Regions from separate parts of the Homo sapiens genome. Here region 2 is linked to region 1. The links are contacts of gene promoters, found by promoter capture Hi-C in blood cells and fetal thymus (Javierre and others, 2016). All regions are on one chromosome and are shown on one strand. Each heading gives the region's core, a stretch centred on a gene start or on the middle of the fragment in contact. The rest is flanking DNA. Distances are from core to core; before and after follow the strand shown.

Region 1 (3,530 bases), core at 589-3,088:
GACCATGATGGCAAAGTCCAGGAGAAAGCCCTGGGCAGAGCAGGGCCAGTTCCCTGGTGCACCTCCATTAGGAGAGGTGAGGAGAACCTGTCCTTGAAACAGAGAGCTCTGAAGCTTCCCACAGTTCAGCTCTGAATTGAGAGGGAGCTGGAGAGAGTGAGCTCAAACTTCGTAGCTGGGTTCAGCCCCAACTGCACAGGCAGGGAGGGGGCACAAGGTCCCCTGTCCACCGATGCTCCTCAGTTTTATTGATGGGTGTCAGGGGAGAGGCCAGAGGGGAGATCCTTCCAGAGCTGAATAAGTGCTAGCCACCTGCCCACCCATACAGCTACCTTTGCAGAGACTGCAGGCATTGCTGCAGGCTGACCTGTCCATCACTGTAGCTGTTTTGTTTCCTGCTCTATCCGCCTGTACCCAGAATACTATCTGGGCCAGAGCAGGGTCTCTGTACATGTATGCGGGTTGAATAATGGAATCCTTGCCAATTTACAGGGCCAAGGGAGCCCTGTGTGAAATCATAATGGCTCAAGAAAATGGTGGCCTAAATAAGCCATTTGTTCCCTCTCTGAGCTACAACTTTGTTGTGTGTAATTTAGTATAAAAATGTTTGGGTCAGAAAGCCACAAAGTGTAGTTCTTGTAGAAAACATACTTGGAGTGTGTGAAGCTGAGCCTTTCTGGTGCAGAGGCTGAGGGGGAGGCTTGCTCTGTGCCCAGAAGGCTACATCACCAGCATCTGTCCACACTCAAGATGGGGGAAAATAGAATATCCCAAAGTGATTAAATACTCAAAGTTCCAAAAACGTGACAGCATGTCAATGTTCAGTAATCACCATAAAGCTACAGCAGCTGCCCTTAGTAATTACTCTTTTTTTCTCTATCTTAATAAATATAAAACACAAAGCCACTGGAGATAGTTATGAAAGTGGTCTGAGGCAGCCCTAACTCAGAACTTTAGGAAGACAGCTCTACACAATTCTCCCTTTTCCAGATCTAGGTATCCTGCTTGTTTTTTGTTGTTGTTGTTGTTTTTAACTAATAGCAGGAATAATGGAAATGCAAACGCTGAACAGGACAATTTTCCTCTCTCTCTCTCTCTTTCTGAAGTATACACTGCATATGAAAAATGCTTCCAAAATTATACGTGCTAGAGAAAAAGAAGGTATCACCAAAAAAAAAAGTTTCTTCAGGAGAAAAAAAGAAAAAAGTAATATAGAGGAAAAATAATAAGATGATTTTTTCTACGCACCTCCCAAAATCACTTTCTTTTTAGACTGCAGATGACTGGTAACTTCAATTGCACTGCAGATGTTAGAAAAGCCCAGTATCTGAGTAAATGTGTATATCATGTTCCCTTTCTAGTCTTCTCACCTTCCACCCCTTGCCTGGCCACATTAATTAATAGTTAAAATGCTGATCATAGACACTTCGGTGAGGGTTTTAGCAAAACCTTCAAGTTGCAGCCCTGGCTCTAAAAATGGGACTGGTAATCACCACAAAAGTGAAAGACTAAGAGGAGGAAAACCCCAAATTTACACAGAAATACACACAACCCTATACATTCAAATAAAAAGAAGAAAATAAAGATAAGGTAAAAGTGTTTGTGCATGCGCACACACAGACACAATTGTTTAAGCCTGACTTCCAAACAACCATCAAAGAAAATCTCCCCTTCTGTTCTTCCCTGAGTGAAGGGCTTTCCTTACCATTCTGGACCACGCTGATGAGGGTGACGATGGCCAACAGGACAACATTGCCTACAGTTTCTTGATCCATGTTTGCTTCAGGCTCCCCAGAGAGGACTGCTCTGCCTCCAGCTGCACAACCTGCCCTGTACAGGAAGGGGAAGTGAGAGCTTGCACTCTTTCATCATTACAATTTCTGAAGATCCCCGGCACAATTACACAGTGCCTTCTTCTTCCTTTTTTTTTTTTTTTTTTTTTTTTTAACTAACCACCAAAATGCCCTGGCTGTGGTTCAGTGTGTCCCACCAGGAGAAGCAGGGCTTGGCAGAGGAGCACGCAAAGCCAGCACACTCTCCTACATTTCCTTGTCATGGGAAACTTCCCTGAGAGTCTCCAGAATGAATCCTGGACCCAAGACCATGACCAGCACGAGCCCAGCACAGGCACCAGAGAATCTGGAAGCTGCCATCATCTCTGACTTCAGCAAAGAGAAAGAAGGGAAAGTAAACCCAAAACTTTCAGGTCAGACAGAGTGGCATAAACCTGTAACCCCAGCATTTTGGGTGGCTGAGGTGGGAAGATTGCTTGGGCCCAGGACTTTGAGGCTACAGTGAGCCAATGATTATGCCACTGCACTCCAGCCTGGGCAACAGAGCAAGACTGTCTCACACACACACACACACGCACACACAAATGTAAAATGAAACTTTAAAAAAATGTATAGAACACCAAAAGATCTGTGCCCCAAATACTGTCCTTCTTTTTTTGAATTCCAAGAAAAAAAGTGAACACTTAACACACGGTAAGTAGCAGCCACATAAGGTTTGAATGAAGGAAGGAATAAATGGCAGTGGGGAGGGACAGCTGATATCTCCATTTCTTCAGAGAAAAGTAATAAAGGGAATTCATAAATTAAACCAAAGAATTCAAACCAAACCAAAGAATTCAGGTAAAAGGCAGAAATGGAGTTACAGATGATCCCTAAGGGAAATTCCCAAAGGGAACTGACTTTTCTGAGGCAATCGCAGAAACACCTTCCTGGAAATTCTTTTCAACTGAATAAGAGTAGAGTGGCTGTGCTTTCTGAGAAAGTATAAGAGTGGACCTGCTGGGTGGGTGAGGTGGCTGCCTGGTATTCTGCAGCTCAGATCAGTGTGAATGGCAATCCCTCTGAGGTTACATGGAAAATGCAAAATACCTGCAATCTTTGTCCCAGACTTAGCTATTTGGCATTGGTTAAGAGGTGCTTTTATCAAAACTTCACTTTGAAAGGGAACATGGACCACTGTAACTAGTGGCAGCAGGGAGGGCTGCATCTCGGCACGGAAGAGGTCAGTGTAGGGGAAGATATTGCTCCCTCATAGGTACAGTGCCAGAGGCCCGCTTCAATGCCCTCGGTTCAGCTGAGAGAGAAAGGCTGATGAAGGCAGCGTGCAGAGTTGTGTGCGGGGAAGCCAGCAGCCAGGGCTGTCGGGCTGGTCATGACACACTTGGGTACTCCCTGAGTACCTAGGGCACTTTGTAGAGTATAGACTTTATATTAGCCAAGGCTCTCCAGAGAAACTGAACCAATATATAAATAAGTCTCCTCATATATATATATTGCAGATTTATAATAGAAATTGGTTCACATGCTCATGGACACCATGAAGTTTCATGGTTTGCCATCTGCAAGCTGGAGACTCAGAAAAGCTGCTGGTGGAGACCAGTCTGCATTCAAAGGCCTGAGCATCAAGGAGGGCAATGGTGCAAGACCCAGTCTGAATCCAAAAGCTGGAGAACAAGGGGCTCCAGTGTCCAAGGGCAGGAGAAGATGGAGGGCAATGGTGCAAGACCCAGTCTGAAT
Region 2 (3,893 bases), core at 29-2,528, 1.1 Mb after region 1:
GAGGATGGCTTGAGCCTGGGAATTTGAAGTTCCAGTGAGCTATGATTGTACCGCTGCATTCCAGCCTGGGTGACAGAGTGAGACCCCTGTCTCTAAAAAACAAACAAATGACAACAGCAACAACAACAGAACACTTTTTCTGAAGCTAGCACCATGCAGTTATGTACTTTATAAATTGCTAGTCTAATTCCAAGGGAATAGTTCAGCAGCTGATATTTGAGAAGGACCTGTAGAAAGGATTCAAAGACCACGGACACCGTCCACTGTTTTTCTGTTTTCCTATAAGATAGAAGAAGGATGGCATTATTAATTTATGCCCTGTTTACCTATCCCAAGTCCCAGATCACTGGATCTTTAAAGATTATGATTCTCGCTTGGCTTTTGGTACAAAAGGAGACAAGGAGGGAGCTTAAAAGGTGAGCACGGTGTGATTCAGGACTGAAGCTTCTGCCACTTCCTGGGGGGTAACTGCAAAAGTGAGCCGTTCTGACTAGCCGTTTGTGCATTTGCCACTGCCAAGGGGGCACAGGTAGATTCAAGCTTTGGGGCTCTTCTGACAACTGGCAAGGATAAGGTATTAGCAAGGGCAAAGGAATAGTAATAAAATAATCCAATAACAAAGACATGAAGATTTATAATAATTTTTAGGCCGGTGCAGTGTTTCAGGACTGTAATCCTAGGGCGCTTTGGGAGGCCCAGGCGGGAGGATCGCTTGAGGCCAGGATTTCGAGGTTAAGGTGAACTGCGCTCCAGCCTGGGCAATAGAGTAACACCCTGTCTCTAAAATGAAAAGAAAACAGTTTAAACCTTTTAAGTGCATACCAAATCTTTTATTTTGGAGAAGGAAAACTGGTCTCGAGTTCCGTGTGAGCTCCCTGGGGCCCGCCGGGAGGGGGTTGGCACGGCCGGACCTGCAGCACTAGTTCTGGCCAGGGCGCTGTGGGATCTGCAGGGGACCACAGGATGCTGTGGCGCGGTGCGCTCAGATTGGCGGAGAAACGGCCACACGCCTACGGAGCTACTGAGAAGGCGAGCGGAGGCGCAGCCCGCCCGCCCGCCGCGGGAACCCCAGGTTGGGGCGCTGGGCGCGCGAAGACTCAGCCGCCCCGCCCACCAAGGGCGCGTCGGTCCCCGGCCGCAGCCTCTGGGCTGGCAGCCGCCGCCGCGCCGCGCTCCCATTGGTGCCCGGCGGTGACGCGGCCGAGCGGGCCGGGGCTGCCTGGTCCGGGGGCGGGCGTGGGGCGCGGGGCGCGGAGCGCGAGGGGCGGGGGCCGGGCGCACTGCTGATGAAACCTGGCGCCGGAACCCGCCAGCCCTCGGCGCCCATTCAGTCCGCGCAGGCAGGTGTGAGCAGCGGGTCAACTACCTGGCAGGCGCGCACGCGGCCGCGGGCTCCCGCTAACCGCAGCCTCCACTCCTCTCCCCGCGCGCCGCGCCCCCGCCCCGCCCCGCCCCGCCCGGTCTCGCCGGCCGAGCGTCCGTTGGTCCTTGAGCGCGTCCGACAGTCTGTCTGTTCGCGATCCTGCCGGAGCCCCGCCGCCGCCGGCTTGGTGAGTGCCCGGCCCCGCCAACGCAGGGGGCAGCTCCTTGGGCCCGGGTCATCACGGAGGGGGCCCTGGCGCCGCGTGGGGCCGCGGCAGGGCGGCGCGGGAGTGGCGAGGGCCCCCGCGCCGGGAACGCTGCCATCCTCTGGGAAGGGCCAGGACCAGGGCCGGGCGGGCCCCGGAGTGGGCGAGCGGGGCTGGTGCCCATGCGACTGTCGCCTCCACGGAGTCCATTTTGGCTCCCTGAAACCGCGGCGTGGTGCATGATGCAACACCGAGTGAGTAAGCGTGGGCGATCTGGCGATGCCCGCTCCGCGCGCCTGTCCGGGGACCCGCGCGCCGCTACGCACGGGGTGGTCGGGGTGCGTAGGCGGGCGGCGGGCACGGGGGCCAGACTGGGAGGCACACGGAGCCCGCCGGCGGCGAGGAGACCTTCCCTTACATGGCGCGGTGCAGAGCACCCCGCCCCGCCACGAGGTCCGGGGATGTGTCATCAGCCGTGGGTGGGGACTCTGCCCGGCCGCCCGGAGGGTGGTCCCGCGGCAGGTGGCCGGCCCAGGGACTCTGCTGCCATCCCCGCCCGGTGGCCGCCCTGACCTAGGGCGCCTGGCTCTCCGCTTGTCCCTAGAACCCGGGACGCGCCGCCTGCACCTCTCGTCTGGGTCCCCAAGATTGCTTTGAGGAAGTCTCCCCTAGGTGGGCTTCCTTGTGACCCAGTGTGGCCTGGAAAGGCCGGGTTCCTCAAGCCCTCCACATGGTTTGGAATGAGAGGAAGTTCTTCCGCCTTTAGCAAGACACCGTATTCTCAGGGTGTTCCTTTCTGCGTAGTAGAAAACTTCCCAGGCATGGGCAGGTCAGAGTCATTCTAAAACCTGCGCGTACACAGAGCGGCAGCTGCACTGTAGTACTACAACAGCCTGCTGGTTCAGCTCCTGACCCTTTCCAGGGGATGGGGGAACCAGACAGCAGTTGTGTTTGACTTGTGTGACTAGGATAGTCAGACATGTGCCTTCAGGAAAAAAATAAATAAATAACCTACATTTCCCAATACTCACGTCATCACCGCCATGCCCTCATGTGTTGGGTTTTAGTCCAGACATAGTTACCAGATGGTTGAGATTTCAATCCCAGGTGTATCTCCCTAAAGAATGTGCCTTTTATCTTACTTACATTCGACTAGTAGAATTGTGTATGTCGGCCTCTGGCCGAATGCCCTAATTGTATTTAATTCGAATTATAATTTATCTGGGATTTTTCCTAACATTTCTTGCCCTTTATGTTTGGTTCAGATAATAGGAAACCATGATACATTTATTCCTCTGGTATTTTTAGTTGATCTCAGTGGAAATTACCATGATTTTTATATGAACACACCCTCCTGTTATTAAAACAAAAGGTCTTATTTAAGTCACACGAACAGAATAGAAACTTAGGGGAAAGGTCAACAATAGATTAAAATGGTTTTAAAAATAGGTTTAGCATATTACGATCATGTTTAATTATTATAAAGGTAAAATTCAAAGGATGTCAAAGGAGTTTTGAGTAAAGAGGAAAGGGCTTAGTAAGTAGATCAGAAATGTACTCCCTTGTCTGGGTCTGGATCCTAGAGCCACGTGCTCCTGTACATATGATTACTTGCTTTAGGTGAAAAAAAAAAAGAAAGGCTTGAAAGACAAGACTGTTGACTTCAGGGAGTTACAATTTTCTATTTGGTAGAAGAACTCATTCTTTGATGGAATTAAATACGTGTTGATTGATTATTCTGGTCTGTAGTTTATTTTAACCAAAGTCCATACAAATAGATAATTATGTTGGAGGGCTCAGAATTATGTCCAATTAAATTAATCCTTTCTCATTATCAACCATGTATTTGGAGGGATTGCTATTAATCCTAGGGACAAATTTGAAATGTGAATAAGTGCATCCTTGTTATGGAGAAAAATATTGTTTCCCTCTAACCTTGGAGATACTTGAGTCTCGGAGTTATCTCTTCCAGAGGCATCTTCAGAGATGCCTATCACTCCACCTGCCTCTTGGTCCTCACTCCAAGCAAGACCTTCCGATAGGATGTGGTGTTTTTCTGTATAGTTGGCCCCTGCAGACCTGGATAGATTTTAAAGGCAGATCCAATAGGATTGGCCGGTGGATTCATGGAAGGACGAGAAAGGTCAAATATGACTCCAAGCACATCGGAGTTGCTGTATTAATGAGATGGGAAGGCTGAGCAAAGAACGTGTTGGATGGAAGAGGGACTTTTTGAAAGTCACAACTGACCTTTTTAGAACTCTTATCCCCAGGGTCAGGGCTGGAAGATGTATCTTCTTGGGGCCCCTCTCAGGTGCCTGCCTG

Evidence for each region. Contacts are between HindIII fragments. The CHiCAGO score rates a contact against its expected background, and 5 or more counts as called.
Region 2: the fragment with the promoter of SLC7A1 here is called in contact with the fragment with the promoter of ALOX5AP in region 1 in 1 of 17 cell types (non-activated CD4 T cells); the score reaches 5.9 in non-activated CD4 T cells.

The regions. Positions count from the first base shown.
Region 1 is chr13:30,733,851-30,737,380 of GRCh38, reverse strand. It overlaps ALOX5AP (arachidonate 5-lipoxygenase activating protein), which reads right to left and starts at 1,838. Exons shown (of 5, transcript NM_001629.4): 1 at 1,706-1,838. The coding sequence starts at 1,775. The region is part of intron 2 of LOC124903146 (a long non-coding RNA gene); the gene reads left to right. The HindIII fragment of the contact is 8,013 bases long and covers 117-3,530 here.
Region 2 is chr13:29,593,073-29,596,965 of GRCh38, reverse strand. It overlaps SLC7A1 (solute carrier family 7 member 1), which reads left to right and starts at 1,278. Exons shown (of 13, transcript NM_003045.5): 1 at 1,278-1,550. RefSeq lists silencers at 912-2,151, 2,320-2,614 and enhancers at 2,262-2,391, 3,481-3,893. The HindIII fragment of the contact is 14,376 bases long and covers 543-3,893 here.